Linked DNA regions of Homo sapiens: region 2 is linked to region 1. The links are contacts of gene promoters, found by promoter capture Hi-C in human tissues and cell types (Jung and others, 2019). All regions are on one chromosome and are shown on one strand. The core of a region is centred on a gene start or on the middle of the fragment in contact, and the rest is flanking DNA. Distances in the headings are between cores, read along the strand shown.

Region 1 (6,410 bases), core at 2,389-4,888:
TGAATTCACTAACCCTGCCAGAGGAAGGGGCTTCCAAGAGACAGAGGGACAGCTGATTGCCTAACACCTAGTACAATGGTTCTCAAACTTTAGTGTGCATCAGAACCACCTGGAGGGTGTGTTAAAACACAGAAACAAAGTTTCTGAGTCAGTAGCTGATGTTGCTGGTCCCCAGGGGGGACCACACTTTAGAAACCACTGACATAATAAATAGGCAGGGGCTGCCTGGTTGGTCAGTCCCACTGGACCAACTTTTGATCCTAATCCATCACCCCCCTCCCAAATTGAGCCACTAGAAAGCATAATAGGAATTAAGCAGCTTTGTCTTTCCTGCCTCTCCCCTCCTCATTTCCCATTCACACGCCCATGCTGCTATGGATAAAGAGAACAATTATCAAGCCATTCTTTATAAATATCTCCCGGTGCCGAGTACAGCTCTCACCTGTGCACAAGAAGACTTTGCAGAAGGAGTGAGTTAGGCTGCAAAAGAGAGGACACAGCAGTGCAGGGAGAGCATTCAAGGGCTCCCCAGTCCAGTTCCCTGACCCAGTGTGGAGTCCCTCTCTCAGTGATGAGAGCATGCCACTGGGTCAGTGCCAAGGAAACGTTGTGACCTGCTTTTCTCCTCACTAATTTTCCTGGTGATCTGCCATCATGCACTGTGATTTCCCGCTGAGAGTTCACTTCGTGTCACCAAACTGCTGCCCCCCCGCCGCCAGCCTCACCAACAACTCAGTGCAAAGGAAATCAACGAGTAGCCACAAACACTGCACCCCTGGTGGGTGGCAGGGCAAAACGCCTCAAGTCCAGGATCACAGCTCTTATGACCTGGAAGGGACCATCACAAATATTTCTTTCTTTCCCACACCTGATTACATTATACAGTTTGCTATTTTACTAACAGCAGGAGTTACTGCCAAAATAATATTGTTTTTGTTTATGACGAGGCTAACAGAAATTCCTACAGAGAGCAGTATTGTGAATAACATAAACGCTCTGTGGTAACGGCCTATCCTACTGGACTCTTTTCTTTGGTTTAAATGGGGAAAATCCGGCCAATTTTCACACACACACGTCAGCTTGCTTTTTTCTGGCTATGGCACAGAAAAGGTTACACACATTTTGGGCTACAATTTTAGGGCTGAAAACCAACTCCAGGTTAAATAAGGAAAAAGAATGGAGAGTGATTCATTCATAGCATTTTGGTAAATATAGACACTTGTATGTGTTTGCAAATACTTGGCCTTTAAGATGATTTTGTGTGCACAAATAGGCATATTTGATGGAACAAATATGATTTTCCCTCCCATTAATAAACAAAATCCAATGAGCTCTTTCTCACATGCGAAACTGCACCAGTTCCCATGCTCTGAGTGCCTGACTTGGTGTAGACCCAGCATCCTCCAAAGCAGTAACAAAAACACAACCTCTGCTTACCCCAAAATTATGAATCAGTCTCAGATATCTCACACTCAAGACATGGGTCACAAGCCCAGCTGTATTCAGAAAATTCTGGAGCAGAAGGACAGCCCATTCTCAGGTGACGGTATTGGCTGAGGCTTCAAGAACATTGATTAAAAACTCTTGCACCCTCCCTACCCGCAAAAGAATCCATTCATTTGCATCCATAGATGAGGTCACGCACAAGTTGCCTTCACACCCAACACCCATGGTGGTTCCTGTCCTCACCTGTTTTCCAGGAGTGTCATGCACACCACCTCTCGCACCCCGGGGTTGTTGGCCTTCTCCACGGAACAGCCCTGCAAGTTCCAGGTGGCCAGCCTCAGCACAGGCCTCCCATCCCTTGTGCCTCCAAAGGCCTCCACGGACGGCCGAGTGGAGATAATCTGGGTGGGCCCCCCTGGCGGCAGGTCCAGGTCCTCACTCTGCAGGCTCAGGGAAGTGGGGCTCGGGTGAGGCTTGGCGGTGAAGGTCAGTCCCCCGTTCGTGTGGGTGGATGGGGGCCTGGACCTCTCAGCAAACACCTGGTGCCGGATCCTGTCCAGGAAGGCGGCATTGATACCATCCATCCTCACTAGGTCCTCAACGCTGCGAAAGGGCCCATGCTCACGGCGGAAGTCCACGATGCTGAGGGCCATTTTCTCCGAGAGGCCTCGCACGCTCATGAGCTGGGCCGGGGTGGCTGTGTTGATGTTAACACGTGGGGTGAGGGGCACAGCTGTGGCCAGGTGGTGAGGCTGCTGCTCCGCTAGCAGGTCCCGCCGCAGGGAACTGGGAGAGTGCTGCGCTGAGCTGCCCTTGCTGCTCACACAGATCTCAAACTTGACCTGCTCCAGCTTGGTGGCGCCTACACCACTGACCAATGCCAGGTCCTCCACCTTCTTGAAGCCACCGATATACTCTCGGTACTCCACGATGCTGCGTGCCACGGCACGCGTCACCCCAGGCAGGGTCATCAGCTCCTCCTCCGTGGCAGTGTTGATGTTGAGCCGCTCCTGATTCACTAGAATGTTGCTGAAGTTACAGGCTGCGCTGAACTTGCGGCTATGGGACAGGTCCGAGGGGTCCCTGGGGATGGAGCGGTGGCAGCCCAGGGTGCTCCCCATGGTCCGCCAGGATCAGGCTCCCGGGAAGGCCGCACCACTGCAGAAGAGCTCTCTGGCTAGGGAGGAAGCCCAGTAGGCCGTACAAGCACAGAAAAACGGAAGGTGCAGGATTCAGGGACTGAAGAGGTTACTATAGACAAACACCGAATCTTCCATGCCTGGCGTGTCCAAAATTACCTTTCACTTGGCCGCCTAGAAAATAAATCAATAAACATAGAAACCCATTGAATTAAGAAATTTGCATTAGCACCCCCTACCTAGTGCTAGAGTTAGTAACCAGGAGTCGGGGACTGGTGGCTGCCCGTGAACCCCTAAAAACGCAGGCACAATGAGGCTAGGCCCATGTGGATTCTCCTCTAGGGACGTCCGGGTTTTATCACACTGGAGTCCAAAAAGGCTACGAGCCGCTTCTCTTGGGAAGAGACCTATCCCCATCAGCCTCATGCCTCTCCTCCAGGCCTCTCTCAACTCTGACACTTGGGTCACCCACACTTGGGCTCGCGCAGACGGGGTGGCCACTCCACCTCCCCCACGCTCCGCATCTGACACAGCGCTACCTGCAACCTGGGAAGTCCGTGCTCCCCGGAGCGGGCACTGAGAAGGGGCTTATCGACCCCCCACCCGACCTGCCGCGGGTCCCCGCGCCCCACCTCTCGGCCGCTCTGCGGGGCGCCGGTTCCTCTTCCACCTGCGGCTCGGAAGCCTGAGCCCAGCCCGGGACAGCACGGGCCCCCTGCCTCCAGCCTAGGCGTCCGCGCGGGTGTGGGTCACTGGTCAGGCCCTGGAAGCCGACTACGCCGCTTCGGTCTGCGTGTCCCGGCTCTTTCTATGGGAGAAACTTAGCATCGCTCTCCCAGAGTGAATAGAAGCCGCAGGGCTGCTCGGAGGCGGCGGCAGCGGCGGCGAAACCCGCCGCCGAGGCTGCACCGGGGCTTGCGGCGGCGCCGCCGCAGTTGCGTTTACCCCGGCAAAAAGTCCTGCGCCCAACTCGGGCGGGGATCCGCCAGAGCCAGTCCAGACCCAGCACCAGCCGCACGGCTCCCGCTCGCAGTCGGTGTCAAAGCCAAAGTCCCGGCCGCGCCGCGCCGCGCCGCTCGCGCCTCCGCAGGCACCGCGGCCACGCCTCCTCCGCGCGGCAACTCCTCCCCGGGACTCCCGAGGGCACGTGGGGGAGGGGCCCTGGCGCGGGGCGAGGCCTGGCACCAGTGGGTGGAGAGAGGAACCCGAGAGCGCAAGGGCGGGCCTGGAGTGGGAGAGGCGGGGCCATGGAAGAGGGGGCGGCATCAAGGCTCAAGAGGGTGGAGAACGAACCAGAGAGCGCGAGGGGAGGCCCTGGCGTGCGAGAGGAGGAGCCATGGGTGTGGGGGCGTGGCCTGGCACAAATGGGTGGAGAGCAGAACCCTGGAGCGCGTGGGGCGGGCCTGGAGTGCGAGAGGCGGGGTCATAGAGTGTGGGAGCGGGGCCAGGGCGCGATGGGGTAGGAAAAGCGGGGGCGGGGCCATGAGCGCGGGGGTAGGCCCCGGGAGCGCAGAGGCGGGACTTAGGGGGCTTAAGGGGCGGAGCCGGCGCCGTGCCGGCGAGGGCGGGTCACAGGGAGGCTGTCCTAAGTCAGCTGCCCCCGGACCATGGTTGCCGCCCGGGGCCTAGGACTGGTTGTGCCTGGTAGAGGCTGTTTAGGATTGCCCGAGGCGAGATCTGCTCAGCTGCTTTTCGTCTGTCTTTGAGGTGTGGGGATGAAGGCCGGGGCAGTCCCTGAGAGTGCATCGCTGTAGGTCCAGGGTCTCACGGAATTTTGCAGAACGTTCCAGAGGAGACTGAATGGGATCGTCTTAATTTCTGTCCCCACTTTCGGCCTTTTCTTTTCTTCCACCAGTGTATTACCTTTGCTCCGCTCAGAGAGATGTCCTCTAATAACGCCAGCGACGCATTGTGCTCCTAGCAGAGGGCACGCACCACCCTCCTGTGTGTTCGCATAGGTCAAATACAGGTTTGCTCCTTTGCACATTTAGCGCTGTGAGTAAACAAGGATAAGTTTTTGTAATATTAAGTCTAATCATTACGAAGGAGGGAAATGGGGGCTGCTTCCCAAAACCCAGAAGAGTTTTTGCATCACACTGCTAAATGACAATTTGGTTAAAGATTAAAGAGCCCTCTGCATTATAGTGGATACCTAGAGCTAGAGTATTCGATTAAGCAAATCATGCGGTGATATCGTTGAATACTTTGACCCTGGACGTTTAGTGTTCTCTGAAGTTTCATCCCCAACCAATGTGACCAGTGCATCTGGTTTCAATTCCAAGGACTGGGTCAGCAAAAATAGTACCTCTCACAGGCGGAAGGTACTTTGGTTGTAAAATTAGCGGCAGCCCAAGTTTGGAAAATGCTACTGCCTTTCTGAGGCACATTCCCCTGCTATGTATATTGGTCAGAAAACCAAGTCAAACTAGCTTAGACCAAAAAAAAAAAAAAAAAGGTCGGGGGGAAATTTTTGGTTCCTTGTTGAAAAGTTAAGGTAAGGAATCTTACCTCAAGTCTGGTTGCATCCGACCCAAGTGATGATGGGGTCATTAGGACATGGCAGGACTGCCTCCATCTCTGGCTCCACGGTTCTCTTTATTGGCTTTATTTTTAGGCAAGCTATTTGCACTTGATCGCAAAAATGCCTTGCTACCTACCATCATCTCCCACCCAAACACTGGGCTACATTATGCCACGCACTGAAATCCTGGTGCGGTAAGGAAAAAACAGTTTAAGACAAGCAGGAAAACAGAGAAAACTCTTCGTTGAGCAGAATGCCTTGATGCGCAACGTGGCTGTGGAAGCACAGCCGTGGAGCGTGGCTACTTGGGCTGGAAGCAGAGAAAACATATTTTATCATACAAACCAGGACACTCTGGAGGTGAAGAGAGGACTCTATTAATAATATCCTAGAACAACAGAAATAATCTGGTTTTATTCCCCATAAACCTAGCAAATGCTCCCCTTGGTATAAATGAAACCAAGCGTTGGCCAAACCAAAGTGCATTTAAAAACACACATACATACACCCCACAAAAACATGCAATGAGATGGTTAACTTTAAAACGACTGATTGTATCCAATGTTGGTGAGGACGCAGAGCAATTGAAATGGTCATACATTGCTGGTGGAGGTGTAAGATGGCACCACTACTTTGGAAATCAGTTTGGAAGTTTCCTAAGAAGTTAAACGTATACTTACCATATGACTCAACCAATCTACTTATAGGTATTTACCAAAGAAAAAGGAAAACATGAAACCCAGAGACTTGAATGTGGATGTTCATAGGAGCTTTGTTTGTTATAGCCAAACACACACACACACACACACCCACACACACACACACACACACACACACACACAAAGCAAAACAACAAGAAACTCAAATCCATCAGTGGATGAATGAATAAATTGTAGTATATCCATACAATGGAATGCTACTGAGCAATAAAGACAAACTATTACATGACATTGAAAAGTCTCAAAATCGTTATACTGAGTGAAAGAAGCAAGGCAAAAAAGAACATACTGTATGATTCTATTTATATAAAACACCAGAAAATACAAACTGACATACATATAGAGAAAGCAGATCAGTGGTTACCTGGGGATGATGGGGAGGGAGGAATGGATTTTAAAGGGCACAAAGAAACTTTGGGGGCTGATGGCAATGTAGTTTGAGAGGTGATAGTTTCATGGGCATATGAATGTCAAAACTGACAGAATCGTATACTTTAAATATGTGCATTTGGGTGTACTTCAGTGACAACAGCTTTGGAAAAATCTTCAAAAAATGAAAAAAAATTTTCTCTGAATCTAAAAAAA
Region 2 (6,362 bases), core at 389-2,888, 88 kb after region 1:
GTGATTCTCCTGAGTTGTTGGGATTATAGTCGCATGCCACCACGCCCAACTAACTTTTGTATTTTTAGTAGAAATGGGATTTCGCCTTCTTGCCTAGGCTGGTCTTGAACTGCTGACCTCAGGTTATCTGCCCACCTCAAGCTCCCAAAGTGTTGGGATTACAGGCGTGAGCCACCACGCCCGGTGGAAAACCAATGTAACAAGAATTAAGTTTAGAAGCACACAAATACATGTCTGCACCCAAACACACACACACACGACAAAATTGAGCTAGAATAACTAGTCAGGCTGTGTTTGTTAGCAGACTGAAAAAAAAATACAAAGGAGAAAAAATGATTTTAATAGAGTTAAGATATTTCCTTATTACTTTGATTTCCAATGTATGGACTCATGAAAGTGGTCAAACTTCCACAATATTGCTGACATTTATATGAGAATTTTCAGGAGTTCTTTTACTTCAGTATAAATGTTGGCACTGTCAGGTTGTTCACTTGGAAGATCACAAAATGTCGTAGGAACATGCAGAGGTTCGCTCAGAAAATCAATTACAGCGTATCTGTAGTACAAACAGAAAGATGACCTTGGCATCTGCCAAAAAGGAAAAATAAATAAATAAATAAAAGGAAAGGCAATTTGCTTCCCACAAAAACCTTTGTACAGTGTGCCTCCGTGGCTTCCAAAAAGTAAAGCCCCAAACAAACAAACAAACAAAGTTTCTGCACAGGGACTAAAGAATGGTTTGCTATAGTGAGTGAGGGGAGGGAGTTGCCAAGTGAAAGTGCCATGCTTTGCAGTCATACTTAGCCAACTCAGAGCCACGGCAAGATGAGGAATCCCGAACAATGTTGACCTTCCAGTGGGAGAAAAATCAAGAGCTCAGCTCAGCTTGACAGGTGAAGTCGCCTGGGTTTCTGGGTGGGGTGGGGACTTGGAGAACTTTTCTGTCTAGCTAAAGGATTGTAAATGCACCAATCAGTGCTCTGTGTCTAGCTAAAGGTTTGTAAACGCACCAATCAGCACTCTGTAAAAACGGACCAATCAGCACTCTGTAAAATGGGCCAATCAGCTCTCTGTAAAATGGGCCAATCAGCTCTCTGTAAAATGGACCAATCAGCAGGATGTGGGTGGGGCCAAATAAGGGAATAAAAGCAGGCCACCTGAACGCCCTGGGACAGCTGTTTGGACTTTGTGAGTGTGTTGTTGTTTTGCTCTTTGCAATAAATCTTGTTGCTGGTCACTCTTTGGGTCTGCACTGCTTTTAGAAGCTGTAACACTCTCCAGGAAGGTCGCAGCTTCACTCCTGAAGCCAGTGAGACCATGAACCCACCAGAAGGAACGAACAACTCTGGACTTTTATGAGCTGTAACACTCACCGGGAAAGTCTGCAGCTTCACTCTTGAAGCCAGTGAGACCATGAACCCACCAGGAGAAAGGAATAACTCTGGAAGTGCCGCCTTCATGAGCTGTAACACTCACCAAGAAGGTCTCTGGCTTCTCCCCTGAAGCCAGCAAGACCACTAACCCACCAGGAAGAACAACTGTGGATGCTCCATCTGTGAGAGCTGTAGTACTCACGGCGAAGATCTGCAGCTTCACTTCTGAAGTCAGTGAGACCACACATCCACCAGAAGGAAGAATCTCCAAACACATCTGAACATGTAAGGAAACAAACTCAGACACACCATCTTTAAGAACCTTAACACTGACCGCAAGTGTTCACGGCTTCATTCTTGAAGTCAGCCAGACCAAGAACCCACGGGAAGGAACCAATTCTGGACACAAGCTTAGCTCAGCAGCTGCCCCAAAGGCATGGACCTGAGAAGTTCCTCCCCCCCATCAGGGCCAGTCATACCCACCTCAGACCAGTCCACTTCCACCTCAGGGAATCTGGGGGCCTTAGTCTGTTTCAGCTGCGTTAACAAAGTGCTTCAGGGGGGCGCTTTACAAATTGTCTGCTAGTTATGGAGATTAAAAGATCAATGTGTGGGCAGAATTTTTTCTTTTGAAATTTGGATCCTGGGTTGCAGATGGATGTTTTTTCCCTGTGAGCTTGCATGGTCACCCCCTGCATGTGTCTGCTTCTTGGCAGGATGTCAGAAGTGTTTGAACCAGAATAATTTCATCTTGCGTGGGGGCTGGGTAAAATAAGGCTGAGATCTACTGGGCTACGTTCCCAGGAGATTAGGCATTCTAAGTCTCAGGGTGAGACAGCAGGTCAGCACAAGATATAGGCCATGAAGACCTTGCTGATAAAACAGGTCATGGTAAAGAAGCTGGCCAAAACCCACTGAAACCAAGATGGCAATGAAAGTGACCCCTTGCCATCCTCGCTGCTCATTGTACGCTAATTATGATGCATTAGTATGCTAAAAAGACACTCCATCAGTGCCAGCACAGTTTACAGATGACATGGCAACGTCAGGAAGTTACCCTAAATGGTCTAAAAAGGGAGGAACCCTCAGTTCTGGGAATTACCCACCCCTTTTCCCAAAGATCTCATGAATAATCCATCCTTTTAGTATATAATCAAGAAATAACTATAAATATGGTCGACCAGTGGCCCTCGGGGCTGCTCTGCCTATGGAGTAGTCATTCTTTTGTTCCCTTACTTTCTTCATAAACTTGCTTTCACTTAATGGACTTAGAATTCTTTCTTACGCAAGATCCAAGAACCTTCTGTTAGGGTCTAGATCAGGACCCCTTTACCATAACAAGAACAGCTGTCTTAATGGACTAGGGCCCACCCTAATGACCTCATTTTAACTTATTTCATCTTTAAAGACTGCCTCCAAATAGTCGCATGCTGAGGTCATATGAATTTGGAAGGACACCATTAGCCCATCATGCTGGGGTAGTAGACTTGATTTTCTATCCCTTCCTACTGTTGTTTTCAACCATTGTTTTTAAAGCTATCCATATCATACTTGAAATTCAAATGCTATTCAGCATTCCGTCCCTGACCTGTCCCTGCTATTGCCTCTCCCCACACAAGACGAAAACAAGTTCAACTCTTTTCATTCTGGGGTTTAGCTCCTGTTCAGAAAACATGCTCCATGTTTTCACTTTAGTGTAGCTTCTACTGACTTTCTACTCTACAAAATAAGGATTTAATTCTCTTATACTTTCTTCACTCACTTTTACTCTTCCTCAATCTCCTGATAAAGTTACAGCACAATTTTAAAGCTTAGATCAAGATTCAACATGTGTGTTCTATATGATTGCAAATATTCTTCACAACTGGGTCTAGTAGAACAATAGAGTCATTTCTTGTACTTAGATTTTTTTTTCCTGGAATTAATCAGTGTTGTTTCGCTTTTTAAATAGGTGTTAATTGCAGGTGTCCTTCCTGGAGCCCTGCTTCCTGCTCCATCCACAGGGGTCGCTTTCCCACCTGCTGCGTGGGAAATCCTGGAGGAAGAGCGAGGGGGAGAGATGTGGCAAATGTTGACACACGAGGTTCCGTGCATGTGTGGGTTGGAGTTATCCCTCTTATCTTGCTATTTTTTGAGTTATTGATTAGCTAATGAGCCATGGCTCATGACTCCTTAATTCTCCAATTCTTTTTGTTGTTGTTGTTGTTTATTTTAATTCTCCAATTATTTAGCCTAGGGCAGAGTTATATACACTTTTTCTGTAAAGGTCCACATAGTATCTTTTAGATTTCCTCAGCCAGCTGTCTCTGTTGTAACAACTTAACTGTGCTGTTGTGGTGTGAAAACAACGCATGCCAATGATGAGCATATTTATGTTCCAATACAACTTTACTCACAAAACATACCTGTGGGCAAGATTTGGCCAGTATACCATCATTAGCTGATCCCTGGCCCATAAAAGGGTGCTTTTAAATTTTTCTATTGACATGATTCCATTGGCAGAGAAAAGTGGGTTTGTGCCCGCAGGGTCTCTAGCGGGTTACCTGGGGAAGCTTACTAGAAGCATAAGACAGCTTTGAAATCTCACGTATCCACAAATTTAGACAAAGTTTGACAAAGTTGAGTTGTTCTTCATAACTCAGTGCCCTGCTGATTAAGGAGGGTAGAGAGGGTTAAAGACAACTCAGATGAGGTTGGGGGTCTCTGGGAAGCTTTTTGCCCAGGACCCCTCTTCTTGTTTAGCTAGAGTACTTGGCTTGGCCATCCAGCAAATCAAAGGTCGTATTTTCAAGTTGCCATGGAATCTACGGCTGAAAGGAGACAAACATGGTAATCTATTTACTGACTTTCTTGCCACTGTTCCCTGTTTAGATTTTTCTTTGAGCCAATGACATCCTAAAAGGTAAAACAGCAATGAGGTTTAGACAGAACAAAGCCCTGTGGACCCACAGCAAAGCCTCACCCTTCAGAAAGATGATGCCCCTGCACTCTGGCCACCTTGAGGGCAACACGGAAATGGTCACAAGTAGAAAAAATTGTGTTTACAGCTGTGTGTTCTGTAGTCCTATGAGAGAGAGAAAACAGTGGGCCCAAATGGAGAAGAAAGGGCTGCCTCATCCCTGCACAGCCCTTGGTGTTGTTTCATTTTATCCTAAGACTCATCTCATTTCAACTCAGCAGGCTGGGGTTTGGGGCTGTGTTGTAACTAGGACTCTTTTGCTTCCAAACACAACAAGAGCTACTTGAACTCACAGGAATTAGCCATAATTTTTCAAATGACAAAAACTGAATGTCTTCCCTGAAAGAGAGAGCCGCAGCAGGAGCCAGCTTGCTGGAAGGAATTGACTGGAGTGTTTTCTTCATTCTGAATCCGCTTTCCCTGCCTGTCCCCAGCAGATGTGGGCCAGCCTTATGGAAAGACTCATTCTAGATGAGTGGGATTCTAAGAAGCAAGTACAAGCGGATTGCCACCCCATCGTCTTGTAAGGCAGCTGGCCTGGAAAATTCAGTCCCAAAAGGCAGCTGTGACACAGCTGTGAGGTTCTTATCACCACTTCACCAACCTCTAATCACAGGCTCAGAATTAGAGCAAACGGGACAATCAGTGTGATGAGAGAGGGAGAAGAAGACCTGTGACCCAGCTACCAAGAACCCTTTTCTACCCCCAATTTGCCCTCCAGATGGATTCAACTCTCTAGGGCAAAACACCCTCTTTCTGGGTTTCTGGGACCTGTGGGAAGGAATATGGGGGGCTTCTACCGCACAGGGTCTAACTTTAAGCCAATTTCATCTGAATCCCAAAGGATGAAACCTCTCTTCTGACATCAGGAAAGCGACGATATTTCAGCCTAGGCACACTAATCTGGCCGTTGAGAGATGTTTTGGAATGAACTTTTCCAAATAGTATCTTCCACAAAGGAAGGCAGCTAAGATTTGAGGCCAGATTCCTTGAAAGTGCCATTGTTACTCCTCTACCCTGCTGGGACATAAGGTAGCAGGAGGAGGCATTAGATGCAGATGGGTGCAGCATCCACAGAGCAGGCTGAGTGAGCCTCTTGGTTTTAGGGCTCTGGATGCAGCTGTGGGAACCACTCCAACAACTGTGTCCTCCACATAGGCTCCCTGGAAAAAGGTGCAGGGTATAGGCTGCACCACAAGCAGGCAGACACATTTTTATTATAGAATCAAATGGATGTAACATTTTAACTTTGCAGGGCTACTTTGCAGTTCATGAAATAAAACCTGTGCACAGACATTATCTTCCCAACAATCTTTCATTGGAAATTTTTTTTTAATTTTTATAAATTTTTGTGGGTACATAGTAGGTGTATACATTTATGGGGTACATGAAATGTTTTGATACAGGCATGAAATGTGAAATAAGCACATCATGGAGAATAGTGTATCCATCCCCTCAAGCATTTATCCTTTGAGTTGCAAATAATCGAATTACATTATTAAAGTTATTAAAAAATATGCAATTAAGACCGGGCGTGGTGGCTCATGCCTGTAATCCCAGCATTTTGGGAAGCCAAGGTGGGCAGATAACTTGAGCTCAGGAGTTTGAGACCAGCCTGGGCAACATGGCAAAACCCTGTCTCTACAGAAAATACAAAAATTTGCCATGCGTGGTGGCACGTGCCTGTAGTCGCAGCTTCTTGGGAGGCTGAGGTGGGAGGATTCCTTGAGCCTAGGAGGCGGAGGTTGCAGTGAGCCAAAATCATGCCACTGCACTCCAGCCTGGGTGACAGAGTGAGATCCTGTCTCTCTCTCTTCTCTCTCTATATATATACACACAGACACATATATATGTGTGTGCATATATATCTATATATATGTATATATGTGTGTATATATGTTTACATATGTATATATATACACACACAAGTATGTTATTATTGACTATAGTCACCCTATTGTGCTATCAAATAGTAAGTCTTTTTTTTTTGAGATGGAGTCTTGCTCTGTCGCCCAGGCTGGCGTGCAGTG

What was found. The method cuts DNA at HindIII sites, captures the fragments that hold promoters and counts their contacts. A contact is called where the count stands out against the background at its distance.
Region 2: a contact is called between a fragment that was not itself captured here and the fragment with the promoter of EEPD1 in region 1, in 2 of the 25 tissues and cell types used here (neural progenitor cells and stomach).

Annotation. Positions count from the first base shown.
Region 1 is chr7:36,150,482-36,156,891 of GRCh38, reverse strand. It overlaps EEPD1 (endonuclease/exonuclease/phosphatase family domain containing 1), which reads right to left and starts at 3,638. Exons shown (of 8, transcript NM_030636.3): 1 at 3,218-3,638; 2 at 1,690-2,759. The coding sequence starts at 2,567. RefSeq lists a silencer at 3,507-4,226. The HindIII fragment of the contact is 14,356 bases long and covers 1-6,410 here.
Region 2 is chr7:36,060,642-36,067,003 of GRCh38, reverse strand. It overlaps LOC124901617 (a long non-coding RNA gene), which reads right to left and starts at 891. Exons shown (of 2, transcript XR_007060289.1): 1 at 801-891; 2 at 318-588. RefSeq lists an enhancer at 576-1,775. The HindIII fragment of the contact is 4,735 bases long and covers 1-4,005 here.